4 separate regions of the Homo sapiens genome follow, and all the other regions are linked to region 2. Evidence: promoter capture Hi-C in 16 types of primary human blood cells and fetal thymus (Javierre and others, 2016). All regions are on one chromosome and are shown on one strand. Each heading gives the region's core, a stretch centred on a gene start or on the middle of the fragment in contact. The rest is flanking DNA. Distances are from core to core; before and after follow the strand shown. Region 1 overlaps C9orf72 (C9orf72-SMCR8 complex subunit). Region 2 holds the start of CAAP1 (caspase activity and apoptosis inhibitor 1). Region 3 overlaps MOB3B (MOB kinase activator 3B). Region 4 holds the start of IFNK (interferon kappa).

Evidence for each region. Contacts are between HindIII fragments. The CHiCAGO score rates a contact against its expected background, and 5 or more counts as called.
Region 1: a fragment that was not itself captured here is called in contact with the fragment with the promoter of CAAP1 in region 2 in 5 of 17 cell types (activated CD4 T cells, naive B cells, total CD4 T cells and 2 more); the score reaches 6.7 in activated CD4 T cells.
Region 3: a fragment that was not itself captured here is called in contact with the fragment with the promoter of CAAP1 in region 2 in 1 of 17 cell types (erythroblasts); the score reaches 5.0 in erythroblasts.
Region 4: a contact is called between a fragment that was not itself captured here and the fragment with the promoter of CAAP1 in region 2, in 4 of 17 cell types (total B cells, activated CD4 T cells, naive B cells and 1 more). The highest score is 8.2, in total B cells.

The regions. Positions count from the first base shown.
Region 1 is chr9:27,544,695-27,549,234 of GRCh38, reverse strand. It overlaps C9orf72 (C9orf72-SMCR8 complex subunit), which reads left to right. Exons shown (of 11, transcript NM_018325.5): 10 at 569-678; 11 at 813-2,689. The coding sequence ends at 999. Among named protein-coding and RNA genes, the nearest start is that of MOB3B, 17 kb to the right of the region's middle. The HindIII fragment of the contact is 3,146 bases long and covers 1-2,831 here.
Region 2 is chr9:26,890,585-26,894,921 of GRCh38, reverse strand. CAAP1 (caspase activity and apoptosis inhibitor 1) reads left to right here and starts at 2,120. Exons shown (of 6, transcript NM_024828.4): 1 at 2,120-2,509. The coding sequence starts at 2,207. RefSeq lists enhancers at 1,891-1,960, 1,562-2,141, 2,091-2,310, 2,391-2,570, 2,142-2,721. The HindIII fragment of the contact is 2,677 bases long and covers 1,656-4,332 here.
Region 3 is chr9:27,466,796-27,471,363 of GRCh38, reverse strand. All of the region lies in intron 1 of MOB3B (MOB kinase activator 3B), which reads left to right. Among named protein-coding and RNA genes, the nearest start is that of IFNK, 55 kb to the left of the region's middle. The HindIII fragment of the contact is 996 bases long and covers 2,006-3,001 here.
Region 4 is chr9:27,520,669-27,525,127 of GRCh38, reverse strand. All of the region lies in intron 1 of MOB3B (MOB kinase activator 3B), which reads left to right. IFNK (interferon kappa) reads right to left here and starts at 838. Exons shown (of 2, transcript NM_020124.3): 1 at 167-838. The coding sequence starts at 791. The coding sequence ends at 168. The HindIII fragment of the contact is 1,268 bases long and covers 1,363-2,630 here.

The DNA.
Region 1 (4,540 bases), core at 9-2,508, 660 kb before region 2:
AGTGAAGTAAACATGGATGTATTCTGAAGTAGAATGCAAAATTTGAATGCATTTTTAAAGATAAATTAGAAAACTTCTAAAAACTGTCAGATTGTCTGGGCCTGGTGGCTTATGCCTGTAATCCCAGCACTTTGGGAGTCCGAGGTGGGTGGATCACAAGGTCAGGAGATCGAGACCATCCTGCCAACATGGTGAAACCCCGTCTCTACTAAGTATACAAAAATTAGCTGGGCGTGGCAGCGTGTGCCTGTAATCCCAGCTACCTGGGAGGCTGAGGCAGGAGAATCGCTTGAACCCAGGAGGTGTAGGTTGCAGTGAGTCAAGATCGCGCCACTGCACTTTAGCCTGGTGACAGAGCTAGACTCCGTCTCAAAAAAAAAAAAAAATATCAGATTGTTCCTACACCTAGTGCTTCTATACCACACTCCTGTTAGGGGGCATCAGTGGAAATGGTTAAGGAGATGTTTAGTGTGTATTGTCTGCCAAGCACTGTCAACACTGTCATAGAAACTTCTGTACGAGTAGAATGTGAGCAAATTATGTGTTGAAATGGTTCCTCTCCCTGCAGGTCTTTCAGCTGAAACCTGGCTTATCTCTCAGAAGTACTTTCCTTGCACAGTTTCTACTTGTCCTTCACAGAAAAGCCTTGACACTAATAAAATATATAGAAGACGATACGTGAGTAAAACTCCTACACGGAAGAAAAACCTTTGTACATTGTTTTTTTGTTTTGTTTCCTTTGTACATTTTCTATATCATAATTTTTGCGCTTCTTTTTTTTTTTTTTTTTTTTTTTTTTCCATTATTTTTAGGCAGAAGGGAAAAAAGCCCTTTAAATCTCTTCGGAACCTGAAGATAGACCTTGATTTAACAGCAGAGGGCGATCTTAACATAATAATGGCTCTGGCTGAGAAAATTAAACCAGGCCTACACTCTTTTATCTTTGGAAGACCTTTCTACACTAGTGTGCAAGAACGAGATGTTCTAATGACTTTTTAAATGTGTAACTTAATAAGCCTATTCCATCACAATCATGATCGCTGGTAAAGTAGCTCAGTGGTGTGGGGAAACGTTCCCCTGGATCATACTCCAGAATTCTGCTCTCAGCAATTGCAGTTAAGTAAGTTACACTACAGTTCTCACAAGAGCCTGTGAGGGGATGTCAGGTGCATCATTACATTGGGTGTCTCTTTTCCTAGATTTATGCTTTTGGGATACAGACCTATGTTTACAATATAATAAATATTATTGCTATCTTTTAAAGATATAATAATAGGATGTAAACTTGACCACAACTACTGTTTTTTTGAAATACATGATTCATGGTTTACATGTGTCAAGGTGAAATCTGAGTTGGCTTTTACAGATAGTTGACTTTCTATCTTTTGGCATTCTTTGGTGTGTAGAATTACTGTAATACTTCTGCAATCAACTGAAAACTAGAGCCTTTAAATGATTTCAATTCCACAGAAAGAAAGTGAGCTTGAACATAGGATGAGCTTTAGAAAGAAAATTGATCAAGCAGATGTTTAATTGGAATTGATTATTAGATCCTACTTTGTGGATTTAGTCCCTGGGATTCAGTCTGTAGAAATGTCTAATAGTTCTCTATAGTCCTTGTTCCTGGTGAACCACAGTTAGGGTGTTTTGTTTATTTTATTGTTCTTGCTATTGTTGATATTCTATGTAGTTGAGCTCTGTAAAAGGAAATTGTATTTTATGTTTTAGTAATTGTTGCCAACTTTTTAAATTAATTTTCATTATTTTTGAGCCAAATTGAAATGTGCACCTCCTGTGCCTTTTTTCTCCTTAGAAAATCTAATTACTTGGAACAAGTTCAGATTTCACTGGTCAGTCATTTTCATCTTGTTTTCTTCTTGCTAAGTCTTACCATGTACCTGCTTTGGCAATCATTGCAACTCTGAGATTATAAAATGCCTTAGAGAATATACTAACTAATAAGATCTTTTTTTCAGAAACAGAAAATAGTTCCTTGAGTACTTCCTTCTTGCATTTCTGCCTATGTTTTTGAAGTTGTTGCTGTTTGCCTGCAATAGGCTATAAGGAATAGCAGGAGAAATTTTACTGAAGTGCTGTTTTCCTAGGTGCTACTTTGGCAGAGCTAAGTTATCTTTTGTTTTCTTAATGCGTTTGGACCATTTTGCTGGCTATAAAATAACTGATTAATATAATTCTAACACAATGTTGACATTGTAGTTACACAAACACAAATAAATATTTTATTTAAAATTCTGGAAGTAATATAAAAGGGAAAATATATTTATAAGAAAGGGATAAAGGTAATAGAGCCCTTCTGCCCCCCACCCACCAAATTTACACAACAAAATGACATGTTCGAATGTGAAAGGTCATAATAGCTTTCCCATCATGAATCAGAAAGATGTGGACAGCTTGATGTTTTAGACAACCACTGAACTAGATGACTGTTGTACTGTAGCTCAGTCATTTAAAAAATATATAAATACTACCTTGTAGTGTCCCATACTGTGTTTTTTACATGGTAGATTCTTATTTAAGTGCTAACTGGTTATTTTCTTTGGCTGGTTTATTGTACTGTTATACAGAATGTAAGTTGTACAGTGAAATAAGTTATTAAAGCATGTGTAAACATTGTTATATATCTTTTCTCCTAAATGGAGAATTTTGAATAAAATATATTTGAAATTTTGCCTCTTTCAGTTGTTCATTCAGAAAAAAATACTATGATATTTGAAGACTGATCAGCTTCTGTTCAGCTGACAGTCATGCTGGATCTAAACTTTTTTTAAAATTAATTTTGTCTTTTCAAAGAAAAAATATTTAAAGAAGCTTTATAATATAATCTTATGTTAAAAAAACTTTCTGCTTAACTCTCTGGATTTCATTTTGATTTTTCAAATTATATATTAATATTTCAAATGTAAAATACTATTTAGATAAATTGTTTTTAAACATTCTTATTATTATAATATTAATATAACCTAAACTGAAGTTATTCATCCCAGGTATCTAATACATGTATCCAAAGTAAAAATCCAAGGAATCTGAACACTTTCATCTGCAAAGCTAGGAATAGGTTTGACATTTTCACTCCAAGAAAAAGTTTTTTTTTGAAAATAGAATAGTTGGGATGAGAGGTTTCTTTAAAAGAAGACTAACTGATCACATTACTATGATTCTCAAAGAAGAAACCAAAACTTCATATAATACTATAAAGTAAATATAAAATAGTTCCTTCTATAGTATATTTCTATAATGCTACAGTTTAAACAGATCACTCTTATATAATACTATTTTGATTTTGATGTAGAATTGCACAAATTGATATTTCTCCTATGATCTGCAGGGTATAGCTTAAAGTAACAAAAACAGTCAACCACCTCCATTTAACACACAGTAACACTATGGGACTAGTTTTATTACTTCCATTTTACAAATGAGGAAACTAAAGCTTAAAGATGTGTAATACACCGCCCAAGGTCACACAGCTGGTAAAGGTGGATTTCATCCCAGACAGTTACAGTCATTGCCATGGGCACAGCTCCTAACTTAGTAACTCCATGTAACTGGTACTCAGTGTAGCTGAATTGAAAGGAGAGTAAGGAAGCAGGTTTTACAGGTCTACTTGCACTATTCAGAGCCCGAGTGTGAATCCCTGCTGTGCTGCTTGGAGAAGTTACTTAACCTATGCAAGGTTCATTTTGTAAATATTGGAAATGGAGTGATAATACGTACTTCACCAGAGGATTTAATGAGACCTTATACGATCCTTAGTTCAGTACCTGACTAGTGCTTCATAAATGCTTTTTCATCCAATCTGACAATCTCCAGCTTGTAATTGGGGCATTTAGAACATTTAATATGATTATTGGCATGGTAGGTTAAAGCTGTCATCTTGCTGTTTTCTATTTGTTCTTTTTGTTTTCTCCTTACTTTTGGATTTTTTTATTCTACTATGTCTTTTCTATTGTCTTATTAACTATACTCTTTGATTTATTTTAGTGGTTGTTTTAGGGTTATACCTCTTTCTAATTTACCAGTTTATAACCAGTTTATATACTACTTGACATATAGCTTAAGAAACTTACTGTTGTTGTCTTTTTGCTGTTATGGTCTTAACGTTTTTATTTCTACAAACATTATAAACTCCACACTTTATTGTTTTTTAATTTTACTTATACAGTCAATTATCTTTTAAAGATATTTAAATATAAACATTCAAAACACCCCAATTAAAAGTCAGAGATTGTTAATACCACATGATCTCACTTACACACAGAATTGAAAAACTTGGAACTCATAGAAGCAGAGAGTAAAAACATGGTTACCAGGTGCTGGGGAGAGGCGGTGGGCTGGGGAGATGTTGGTCAAAGTTAGACAGGAGGAATAAGTTCAAGAGATCTATTGTACAACTTATTCAGTTAGATAGGAGGAATAAGCTAAAGATCAAGAGATCTATTGTACAATGTGACTATAACCAACAACATATATTGTACACTTGAAAATTGCTAACAGTATCTTTTAAGTGTTCTCTCTACAA
Region 2 (4,337 bases), core at 871-3,370:
TCAGTGACCCCACTGATATGGTTCCAATGACTGGAGGAACACCACAGTCTTTTGTCTCGTGCTGGTTTAAATAAAACGATACAGACACAAGTGGAATTGTTTTAAGGAGCGGAGAATTTAATAGGCAAGAAAGAAGAGGCTCCCTCATACAGAACCAGAGGGAAGAGGGCTCCCAGATGAAAGAGGGAACCTTGGGTGCAGCAGACAAGAGCCAGTTATATTATGAGGCTGGAGGAGGTGGTGACTAATTTGCATATGACCCAGGGAATTGGTTTGACCAGGTATGTCATTCACGTAGCCTGCAAAAAAAGTGGCCCTCCCACCCTAGCCTTTTAATATGCGAATGTAGGGTGCCACAATGTTCTACACATGTGGGGATATGTGGGGATGGCCATGTTGCTAGGCACATGTGGGGACAAGAAGAAGAGGGGAATCGCCATACTGAGTAAACCCAGTTTCTAACGGCCTGCATTTGCATATCATAGCTTGCCAGCCCAGCTTTTTTGCTAGACAAGAAACATTTCTGGAGCTGCTTTAAAAGAAAAAAAACTTCCCAAAGACCCCTTTACCTCTCTATCTGCCTAAAATAATTTCTTAACTTCTGTAACACCATTGGAGTACAGAATCTGGTAAATATCTCAAAATGGAAAACTTGAGATTTCTTAACCGAGTCAAAGATATCTATAAAGCAATAAGCAGCTATAAGGAAGTGGGCTATAGGAAAAGTTGGTTAACGTTTAGCTATGCTTCTACTAAAAGCTTATCTTTTGTCACAAATCCAGCAATTTGGCAGGGCACGATGGCTCACGCCTGTAATCCCAGCACTTTGGGAGGCTGAGGCGGGTGGATCACCTGAGGTCGGGAGTTCGAGACCAGCCTGACCAACATGGAGAAACCCCTTGTCTACTAAAAATACAAAATTAGCCCTGCATGGTGGCGCATGCCTGTAGTCCCAGCTACTCAGGAGGCTGAGGCAGGAGAAATGCTTGAACCCGGGAGGCGGAGGTTGCAGTGAGCCGAGATTGTGCCATTGCACTCCAGCCTGGGCAACGAGAGTGAAACTCCGTCTCAAAAAAAAAAAAAAGAAAAAAGAAAAAATCTAGCAATTTAGTTTTATTAAAATTATGATGGTTTCAGGGACACAATTCATAACAGGTTTATAAATGTAACATGTTATTAATTTTATGTGTTTTTCCTATCTGTGAACACAACACTCTCAATCCTTTCAGGTATGACTCCAATGAGTGTGATACTTAACGGAACTCCTGGGAACACAGTGGGCTCAGCCCCAGGATTTACCTTACAAGGCCAATTTAAGAGTGGGGCCTGGGGGAAGACAGTTTTCCTAGGGCTGGAAGTGTCCCTATTTATTAACCCTAGGCTGGTTTTAGGCATTTAAGTAGTTGTTGAATGACTGAGACAAATAGGAGACAAAGAGAAGGGAAGCTTCTTTAATTGCTTCTTACCCCAGGGAAAGGCACAGAATTACTACCACCCAGCTAGCTTTGCCCCAGGCTCTACCTTTTTCCCTCAGTGGCTAAAGGCCCCTGCTGAAACGACAAAGACCTTGGTTCACGTTTTAAGTGTTCTAGCTCCCTTGTCTTAAAATCTGCCTTCTATTTAGATTACATCCACCCATAAAATCTCATAAAGCTTTGACCCATTCTCAATTTTCAAAAACGAACTCAAGCTCTACTTGTCCATGTCAGACTCTACGCAAGAAATACCTAATTTGCCCAGGTGATGAGGAAAATGAGATGGAACAACTTTTCCCTATTCTCTTTATTGTCATAGCGTTGTTAATATCTTAAGATTTGGAGGTAAACGGAAATGGAGAATCAGCAACTATACTTCAACCTTATTGTAAACAGACAAAACACTAACAATAAAAAGTTTTGAAGTTAAAAGGACGTAAGTTCCACCTTCTATCCTTTGTAGAGATATAAAAACAAAACAAAACAAACTCTGACTAGACAGGCTACCCGCTACACACTCAAATCGACCTCCGCGACCGGAGGGGGAAGCGCAACTGGTTATGGCAACCCCCCTGCCACCCCGGCCCATAACGCTTCACCACGTTCTGTGCCACGGCCGGAAGTGACGCATAACCTGCGACGCCAGTGCCTGCCGCCCACGGCCGCAGGAGTCGGGCTTCGGTCGCACCAGAGACAGCGGACTTTCCTCCGATGGTTGCAGCAGAGGGATCATGACGGGGAAAAAGTCCTCCCGGGAGAAACGGCGCAAACGTAGCAGTCAGGAGGCGGCCGCAGCGCTCGCGGCCCCGGACATCGTACCCGCGTTGGCCAGCGGCAGCAGTGGAAGCACTAGCGGCTGCGGGAGCGCCGGGGGCTGCGGGAGCGTCAGCTGCTGTGGGAACGCCAATTTTAGTGGAAGTGTCACCGGCGGTGGGAGCGGCGGCAGCTGTTGGGGCGGGAGCAGCGTGGAGCGCAGCGAGCGCCGGAAGCGGAGGAGTACCGACTCTTCCAGCGTCTCGGGCTCCTTGCAGCAGGTGCGTGCGCGCCCCTCTGGCCGCTTCCTGGAGCTGCTGCTTTTTCGGAAGAAGTCGGGCTTCCAGAGGGATGGGGCGCAGGCTGGAGCTCACTGCTAGCGCGGCAATCTCAAGGTCGTCCGTCCTTGAGGTTCATGTTCCTACCTAAGTCCTGGTGAGCCCCACACTCCCATCCGTGTCTTGAATCTTGAACTTCAAGTTTCTGGATTTCCTGATCACTTTTTTTTTAATTTATTTTTTAAACTCTTGGCTCCTTCCACTCCTATGGTTTCACTCTGCCGGAAGAATACGAGTTGGAAGCTAGCCTTCATTTCCCTTGCGAGCCAAACACTTCTCCCTTCGTCTTCACCTTTTCGTAGATATGGTTAACTCCGCATTAGAGATAAGAAAATTGAGGCCCAAAGAAGTTAAACTTTACCCACGGTCACAGAGTTTGTTAATAGCTCCTAGGTTTGAATCCAAATATCTGACTACAAAAGCCATGTTCTTTATACGCCACCAGTCTGCCAAGAGAACGCCGTTTTAAAAAAGTTCATAATTTGTTTGAAAACAAATGAATGAATAGGTACTTTAAATTCATTCAATGAGGAAATAAAGGGAAAGCGTCAAGTCCCTTTTCTTGCCCCTCCATTAGTATTTTGATACGCGGCCTCTTTTAATCACTCCTCGTGAGATACGTGTTTTTAAGTTCCTACACTTAAGCTGTATTGTGTTATTCCCGCTGTTGAATACCTGCATTGTTGTGATAGGCTTCTTTATATACGTGGTTTGTTATTTTTACTGACTGCCTGGTATTGTATTATATTTTTCTGATATTTGGGTGTGCAGGTTTTTTTGTATTGTTGTGACTACAATACAAACACCTTTATGTATATATCTCCTACAAGAGTTATGTTGGGAGAGAGTGTGAGAACTGAAATTCCTGGGTCAAAGTTTATGCTATTAAAAACTTATGAATGCCACCAAATGCTTTCCAAATGAGACTTTACAGATTTATAGTCCAAACAGTATATATATAAGAATACCTATTTCTGAGATTCTTAACTAGCTTTTGATGACATTTTGATGGCATTTTTTAAAAAAATTGCCAGACTAGTGGGTCAAATTAATAGTTTGTTTTAATTTTTATTTTCCTTATTAGTGAGATTGAACATTTTAATATTTTTATTTGCCATTTGATTTCTTCTTATGTAATTTTCTGTACATATCCTCTGCTCATTATTCTCTTTGGTAGAGTAGAAACAGTTTATGTAGAGATTTTATCAGGTGGTTTTCTGGCATTCTGTTGAGATGATCACATACTTTTTCTCCTTTAGTCAGATAATGTAATTTGTTGATAAGTTAGTTGATGTTGAACAGTCTTTGGAGTCTTGGGACAAGTGCTGTTTGGTTTGTTGAGTTTGTTGTACTTGGCTGGAATTCAGTATTTTTACTTTCATGTATGTGTTTCTTTTTTTTTGTTTTTTTTGAGACGGAGTCTCGCTCTGTTGCCCAGGCCGGAGTGCAGTGGCGTGATCCCGGCTCACTGCAAGCTCCGCCTCCCGGGTTCAGGCCATTCCCCTGCCTCAGCCTCCCGAGTAGCTGGGACTGCAGGCGCCCGCCACGACGCCCAGCTAATTTTTTGTATTTTCAGTAGAGACGGGGTTTCACCGTGTTAGCCAGGATGGTCTTGATCTCCTGACCTCGTGATCCACCCGTCTCGGCCTCCCAAAGTGCTGGGATTACAGGCGTGAGCCACCGTGCCCGGCCAACTTTTATGTATATGTTTCTAAATTAGATCAGACTGTAGTTTTTATTTTTGTAATGGATTGAATTAGGAAGCTTTGTG
Region 3 (4,568 bases), core at 1,254-3,753, 580 kb before region 2:
ATGATTCAGGTTAATTCTCCTTTCCCCCAAGGACTTTTTCTGCCATTCTTACTGCTGGAAATACAACTCTTCAGATGACCACTTTTGTCTCCTGCCTATTCGCCTCAGGAAATGACTTTTGGCCCATGGACCACTGGATATGCCAGGCCAGGCATGTCAGACTCCCTGGCTCAGGGAGCTCTTAAATCCTGGAGAGCAGCAGAGTCCACACATCCACTGGTGAGGGGTGGGATGCTAGAGTCTGCATTTTAAACTTGCACCCCAGGTGCAAGTGATCTTGGTCTTTCTGCCATTTCCGAGTGTCCCCAGGAAACCCAGAGGGAACTTACTAGTTAGTCCGTGGACAGATGGTTCAGGGTGAGAAGGGGTTGTATTTTTTCCTTCAGCAGCCACCACCTTCTACCAGAGCCGCCAGAGCTCAAAAGGGGAAAAGTGAAAGAGAAAAAAACAAACAAACAAAAGATAAAAGGCCAGGGGGAGGCAGTGCTGGGGGAAGAGTATAGAACTCAATAAGAACAAGTCAAACCCATAAATATTTGCTGAGAAAAGCAAGGGTTCCAAATGAGTGCGGCAGGGATGGCAGAAACAAAGCCAGATTAGGGAAGGGTCAGGAGAGAAGGGGAAGGGGTAGGCTGAACCTCCACCAGAGGTGGCAGCTTGTGTTTGAAGCCTGCTTTGATGGGCCCACAGGGCTAACAGATGGGTGGGTGGGCCCTGATTATAGATGGGCCAGAAGTTGGGGGTGAGCTGTGAGAATAACCAACAAATCGGACTGTTTAGATACAAAGGAAGGGCTACAGATTCAGAGCTTTGGAGCAAAGGAGAGACAAGAGTCACTTCCTAACAGCACTGTAGGGAGAAGTCGCCTGGAGGCTGGAGGATTATGGCAGGCGGAAGGCAAAAGAAAGGGCAGGGGCAGGGATTTAGCCACTGACAAGTGCAGTCAGCATTAGGGGTCTGGGGAGTTGTCCGATTGATCAAGCGAAACCTGAAAGTTCTCAGAGGTGTTTCAGTGGCTGTTGAGAGGAGTAGACACCCTGCTTCAGCTGCAGAAGAGATAAATAATTTTTATTTATTTTTATAAAATTGAGGGCCTGCATAAAACTTCATTTGGAGGAACAAAGGAGCTATGTTGCTTTAAAAGGCTTAAAAATCACCAGGAATATGAATAATATCTATATCTACATCTCTCCATAGATCTAAAAAGACAGTTAAGTTGGGGTAGTTTTCTTTTCTTTTTTTTTTTTTTCTTTTAAGAGACAGGGTCTCACTCTGTGCCCATGCTGGAATGCAGTGACATGATTATAGTTCATTGTGGCCTCGAACTCCTAGGCTCATGTGATCCTCCTCCTGCCTCAGCCTCCCAGATAGCTGGGACCATAGGTGTGTGCCACCGTGCCAGGCTAATTTTGTTTTGTTTTGTTTTGCAGAGATGGCTGGGGGAGGGGGAAGGTGTTGCTTTGTTGCCCAGGCTGGTCTCTAATTCCTGGCTTCAAGCGATCCTCCTGCCTTGGCTTCCCAAAGTGCTGAAATTCTAGGTGTCAGCTACCACGCCTGGCACGAAAAGGGAGGGGGGAAGTTTTGAAGGGCCATTAAGTGTCAGACTTGCTGAAGTATTAAACAGATCCATTGCCTAGTGGAAAGAACACAGGCACTGAGGTTGAGGCTTTGTTTTCAGCCCCAGGTCTGTCCTAACTGTGAACCTTTAAATATTCACTTCAGTTTTCTGGGCACTAGCTGTTTGTTTTTGTTTTTAATAAATTAAGAGGCTCTATTGAATTAACTGATGTTCAGAAGTTCTTCCTGCTGTACAATCCTGTCAGCCATGACCTTGCTATCAGGCCTCCCTAGCAGATGCACACGGAATGGGTAGCAGGATCAAAGTTCGAGGAAAATTAATGTCGTGGTGTTGTGTGGGATGATTGAGGGAGACAGGTTAGGGGCCAGGATGCTGTCACTGAAGGGTACAAAGGCAACAAGAGTGGATGCAACAGAGACAGAAGCTTGGGCATGGACACCAAAGTCACAGAAGTTGAGTTTTCACTAAAGGAGGTGAGATGATACATTTTTTTTCTCGTATTAGAAAAAAAATTCCCAGCCAGGCACTGTGACTCATCCCTGTAATCCCAGCATCTAGGGAGGCTGAGGCAGGAGGACTGCTTGAGCCCAGGATTTCAAGACCAGCCTGGGCAACATGGCAAGACCCCCATCTCTACAAAAAAAGAAAAATTCCCAAGTTGATTAGCTTGCTCTCTTCCCCATTATTTTTTCCTCTGAGGTATATTTTTAAAACTTATTTTTTAAACAAAGCACAAAGGTAAAGGTCTTTGCGTGGTATTGCAAAGATCTTTACAAAGTTCTACCATGACTTTTTAAACATTGTTTTAAGCCAGTGGGCATGCTTCCAAAGGAGCTGACTTTTCACTGAATGCTAGAAAATGAAAACATGGGAGCTGTTTAGATTGGCCTGGGAAACATCATGTCCAGTAGCCACTGTTGATCTTTGCATGAAGTAGTTCTGTTTTCTGAAAAGATTCCTTTTGTCCATTGTCTCATTATGATTATGGGGGCCTAGTCCTCTCAACTGGAGAAAGAACTGTTTATCTGTGCGGTATTTGATTAACAATCATTTAGATACACAGTTTAACCACAAAAAGTTACTGAGTTCCTGTTTCTGCTGGGTCCTGTGTTAGGTACCAGGGATGCAGTGAAGTCTAGGGTGTGCTCCCAACCCTCATAAACTGATGGAGGGGCCAGACATGTGAGCAAAGAAATACAGCACAGTATGTGGTCCTGGGGCATTCGCATCAGAGATGTGCATGCAAGGTGCACACGATGACCAGCCATCCCGTCCTTCTTGCTCCTTCTTTTGGTACCTTGTTCCCTCTGCTTTACCAGGAGTTGAAGTTAAGCCAGAGAGAAGTTTGAGGAAATCGAGGCTGGGCAAGGGAGAGGCCTTATCTGAGTGGATAGAAAGTTTTTCAGTTCCCTGGAGAAAGCTTCTGATAATCATGTTCCCAGACAGTAGCCACATACAGGGGCATGGGACTGTCAGGCCTAAAGCTCACTGTCAATTGTGGAGGATTCAGAAGCACTTCATAGATGATGGGGGACTCTGTTCTGAGCAGTCTGTCTCTGTGTGTCTGCCACTGAGCAGTAACTGGTACAAATGCACCCTATGACTAGGTTTTCTTTCTTAGCTGAGAAATCTCTTGAGAAGGCTATGCATTTCTGGTGTGTAGACAGACTTTCTGCAGATGAGTAAGTTATGTCTTAAACAGAGTTCTTGTTGAACTAATGTCACGAAGAGTCTCTGCTAACAAAAACAGCTAACTTTGCATAGCCAAGCCACTCTGCACAACTTAACAATGTTAGTTCTCCAATAGAGCCCTAATAAACAAGTCACACCACTCTTCCCTATGTGGCTTCAAAGAAGTTGATAGTAACAATACAACAACAAAAACAAAAATCAACTTTGTTTCTTATGGAAGCCAGACTGTTAACCAATGGGCCTGTTAACTCTAAACTCTGGATTTGCCCACCCTTTCCCATGTAGCACTGGTGAGAGCAGACCAATTCCATTCATAAAGGCAGAAAGCTGGGGAAGCAGCAGGTAGCACACTTGAAAGCAGGCACTTCGCAGGAGGAAAAAAGGTCAGGCTGAGCCAGCTGAGCATGTGCGGTTTGCCAACTAAGTGAATCCATCCCTCCACTTGCCCTGGGGCGATGTTAGTAAAAGGACATAGAGAGGATAGTAGGATGCATAGGGAAAATTCTTCCTCATCCAAACCACGAGTGGGGAAATGGTGCTTCCCTCTGAGGTGCCTCAAGATTTTACACTTTTTGAGGGTCATGTGCTTAGGTCTTGTGGGGAAGAAGTCAAAGAAAGAGCACATTATGGTTGGGACTCCTATTGATCATCACACCACCTGAAATCTGATCATAGGAGAAATCCAGATTAATAAATTTAACACTTGACATTTACCTATCTTTACTTATATTATCTCACTTATCCCCAAAACCCACTGTGATATTGGTATTAGCACCCTAACAACAAAGAAAGAAATTAAAGCACAAAGAGAAAGCATTTAGCCCACAAGGGTAACTGGTCAAGGGGCAGAGTCTGGACTCAGACCTGCATCTTTCTGGCTCTAAAGGTAGACCTCTTTTCAGTCTTTGAGGAGGATACATGGTTTGCAATTACATGTCTGACTCAATTTCATTTCAAACTTTTTTTTTAACTTGTTATTGGCATGTTTGAGAGAATAGAGTGGGTAGAATCATTAATTATTTGTCTCAATTTTATCTCAGGGTTACCTGCTTTGTGTACCTGTTTTTCATGTAGAAAAATGAGAAATCATCTAGCTAGATGGTTGTCTGTTCTCTCTTGAGAGTTTCTAGAAATGCAGACTTAATCCTTCTGGCAGGATCTCTGGATTCTGATAACAGGAATGATAACAGGAATGATATGGTTTGGCTGTGTCCCCACCCAAATCTCAACTTGAATTTTATCTCCCAAAATTCCCACATATTGTAGGACGGACCCAAGGGGAGATAATTGAATCATA
Region 4 (4,459 bases), core at 747-3,246, 630 kb before region 2:
GGCATTACCTCTCCTTAGAGAGGTGAGTGTCCCTGATGTTCCGAGGCTACCAGTCCAACTGAGGACAGGCTTACAGGACAGCACAACAATCCTTAAAAAGAAGTTGGAGGAGGAGAAGGAGAAAGAGATTTCGGAGGGAAAAGGAATTTTAATTCCAAAAATATACCTTATTTCCTCCTGAATAGAGCTGTAAATTTGTAAAAGTAATACAAACATCTTCTGATTTCCACTCGGACAATCTCCCAGGCACAGTCACTGTATTTCTTTTCTTTCAGGAAATTGTCTATCCTGTGGAAATATCTCCTCAGTTCCAGGCTGCTCAGCTGGGGGACCCTGGCTTCTGAGGGTTTCATCTCATTCTCTTTCATTTCTTTCATGTCTTCATTTTCATTCTTGTCTTCCTCCAAGCATTGGTTCAGGTACTCTGCTTGCTGATCAAGTCCTATTTGGATTTGTTTGAGGTGTCTCTCTTTCCAATATTTGAAGGTGTGTTGGCTGAAGATGTTGAAGGCCTGTAGGGACATTTCATAGAAGGCCTTCTTGATGTCCCTCTTCATAGGTTGGGTGTATTGCAGAAACTCTTGGGGCAACTCAAAAGCTATGTTTTCTCGTAGACATTCTACAGGAAATGAATTGCTCATACTACTCAGATGTCTCAGATTTTGCCAGGTGACTCTTCTCAGGTGAACGTTCAGTAAGTTACAGTCCAGGGATAGGGTGCCAGCAATGAATATACCCATAAGGATCTCAAGCCACAAACACTTTTGAATCATATCAGGTTTGGTGCTCATTTTTTTTGCAAGCTAAAAAATCCAGAAGATGTGTATATGACAATGATGTTTTGAGTTTTCCTTCATGTGCCTTTATATACCTGAATATCTTCAGCAGGAGGAGTTTTCTCATTCGTCATTTCACAGTTAACCAAGGTTGCGGCCCCTTTCCTTTGCCTCTGAGGCTTTTTTTTTTTTTTTTTTTTTACTTCGGGTGACTATGCCGACTTTGGAAGTGATAACTTTTTTTTTTCCCTGAAAAATGAGCAAAGAATTACCATCGTGTTACCTTAAATGCCTGGATGATCCATCCCAGCACTAAGGAATCATCATAACAAGACTGATGCAGGGTATTTCAGAAAGCCAAAAGCTGTGAGTCCATGCACTCACTCACTCACTCACTCACCCAAATCTATTACATAAGAGGGAGTGATCCTTCATGAAAATATATTTTTTGTACCTGGTGCTATAGCCAAACATCCTGTCTCATTGAGTTAATCATAGACATTGACCAAATGACTGTGATTATTTGATTGCTAGGTCACCAGAGCACAGTATAGTTTAGGTTTTTCCAATTTTGTTAAATTAAGCTTCTATATTTGGATATTTTCTCTTTTTGATTTTTCTGGATCTCCAAAAAGATGAAGAATAGAGCTGGCACTTACTAAGTAGGAGACTAAGTTGGCTTGGTTTTCTGTTGCATTAGAAAATGTTGATAATCTCTAAATATCCTTTTCTTCAGTTAAATCCATCCTGGACTTAGCCTTCCATATGCCTCTGATACCTTTCTTAAAAGTCCTGGAGGGGGTTTTATATTTGAGAATATCTTTCTGCCTCATTAACTTCTCTCTTGTAGTATCATTTTCTTTTCTTTTCTTTTCTTTTTTTTTTTTGGTGCAGTTTAGGCAGTATTTTTAAACTTTTGCTTGATTGCTTGATTATTATATCTTCTTGCCTGGTGGTTCTGGATTCTGTAAAGGCTTTTGTTTGCTCCTGTGTTTGTTGTGCACTGAGGAGGTATGTGAGTAGGAAGTCACCCATTTAGCTAAGTGAATTCCTAGCTGGACCAATGTTACTGTGGTAATGATGGCTATCTATTGTTTATGGTTTTTACTTTGTTTGACCAAATAACCTTCCTCTGATTATGGTTAAAGCAAATGGATTCTTTTCTCCAGGAAAATAAAATGGATTGTCATTTTAAAAAGGTAGCTTATTATATCTTCTCAAGAAAAAAAAGATATACATTAATTTGCAATTAAGTCATTGTAAAATGGTAAATAGCCACAGTTCCACAAACATGGCAGACTTTGATTGAAAAGTTGGCTTAAAAAGTTCTTGTCTAAATCAGTTGACTGCACCAAAGGCTAATTGTGGGTAAGTGGGATTTCTTAAAATCCTGGCTTTTAGGAAAGGTTTCTTACGGAAAAAAATATATATATATATATTATTCTATTTGTTCCATCTACATAAATTCTTATTTCATGGGCAGATTTCTTGGGCTGACCAAATTTGGAAAACATTAAGAAAACAAGCCCTTTTATATAGCGTTATAAATTGACACAACCTTCCTAGAGAGGAAAGTGGTGATATGGATCAAAAGCCTTAAAAATGTACATAATATTTGACTCAGCGATTGATCCTCTAGGAACTGATTCCCCAGAAATAATGATGATGCCCTTAAAGACTTAGCTGTAAGGAAGTTTGTCACAGCAAAAAATGGAAAACAATTTTAATGTTCAGCAATAAATACTTAGTTAAGTAAGCCATCAGTAGAAAACATATATGTAAGCACTAAAAATTATGTGTGGGAATATATTTGGTCACTTGGATAGATACACTTTGTAGTTTAAAAAACAAGCTTATATTTGCATATAGAGGCTGATACCACTTTTGTTAAATATAGACATATGCATATATATATATATATATATATATATGAAAAAATGTCTTGATATATATGCAAAAATTTTGAGTCACTATCTCTAACTGGAAGAATAATGGGTGGTTTTTATTTTTATATTTTTATTTACCTGGATTTTTTAAGTTTTCTGTGGTGAGCAAGTATTTCTTTTTCTTTCTTTCTTTCTTTTCTTTTTTTTTTTTTTTTTTTTTTTTGTGAGACGGGGTCTTGCTCTGTCTCCAGGCTGGAGTGCAGTGGCGCGATCTCGGCTCACTGCAACCTCCGCCTCCCGGGTTCAAGCGATTCTCCTGCCTCAGCCTCACAAGTAGCTGGGATTACAGGCACGCGTCACCATGTCTCGTTAATTTTTTTGTATTTTAGTAGAGACAGGGTTTCACCATGTTGGCGACGACGGTCTCGATCTCCTGACCTCATGATCCGACCGCCTCGGCCTCCCAAAGTGCTGGGATTACAGGCGTGAGCCACTGTACCTGGCCAAGTATTTCTTATTTAATAAGAGAAGGCTGTTTTTAAAAGAAGATACATTAAAAAAGGAAAAATTATTATACATCTGAAATGGGATCAATACTATTTTATTTGTTTAAACATTTCTACTCTAGAGTATTTTGAAAGAAAATGTGGATTCTCCCTAAGGCTCAGTTCCAATCAGTTGATATGAATAACACACAGTATGTGGGAATATACTATTCTTGCAGCCATGTTTATACATGTATATATACTTATAATTACACACACACACACACACACATTCTATAAAGTGCAAAGCCTCTCTGAGGGCCATGGCTTTTTACATACCTCATATAACTTCTCTACCTAAAACTTCTTGAACTGTTCCAATTAGAACTGCTTGTTCCCCATTTTGCTTTTACGATGCCTTGGCCTCCTTAACCATGGGTTTTAAAAAACAGATAATTGTATAAGTGTTGGTCTCCCAATTTAGTGCATTCCCCTCTTCCCTGAAATTGCCCGTGGTGCTTAGTATACTTTTCACTAGTTTGAGACAGTTCAATGATACTAACCAAGCTAAAAGATTGTTCAGTTCTGCTCATAGGTGTTGGAGATGGCTGCACATTTGGCTATTGTCATTCGTCTTGAAGTTGCCTGTATTTTCAGCCATGCACAGTTTTGTCATCTTTAGCCCTCTCACCCCAAATTTCCTCCCTTTACTATAATTCCATATTATATTCTCATTTATCTAAAAATGTACTTTTGTGTTTATGACATTTCCGTCACTGGCCTAGGTCCTGAAGAAGGAGGAATAAGTTGTAGTGCATGATCTCGAGGAGGCTGTGGTTGAAGAAGCAGGCATGTTCTGAGTGTTTTAGGCAGGAGGAGTAATTCTTAGGGTTCCCCAAGAGCAAGGACTCCATTCCCCATGTTCTGTAAACGTTAATAGATGCTGATATTGACAATATTCATGACAAAGAAGGAAAGATGGTTGGCATACACATCTGTCCTTCTCCCACCATTAGGATTGCCTGTCTTAGCAGATAAAAATATAGAACACTCATGCAATATTTGGGACATACCTACTAAAAAGTCATTCATTGTTTTTCTGAAATTCAGATTTAACTGGGTGTCTTTATTTTATCTGACAACCCTATCCACCATGCAAGCTCCCACTGACCTCTCACAGCAGAGCTCAGACGTGACATCCCCTGCAGAGAGCCATTCCTCTGCTACTCTTCCTCCTCCTGCAGAGTTACATTTGATTGCATTTCTCTATGCTGGCTTTACATGTGCACATACCCGTAACAAGTGTACATGG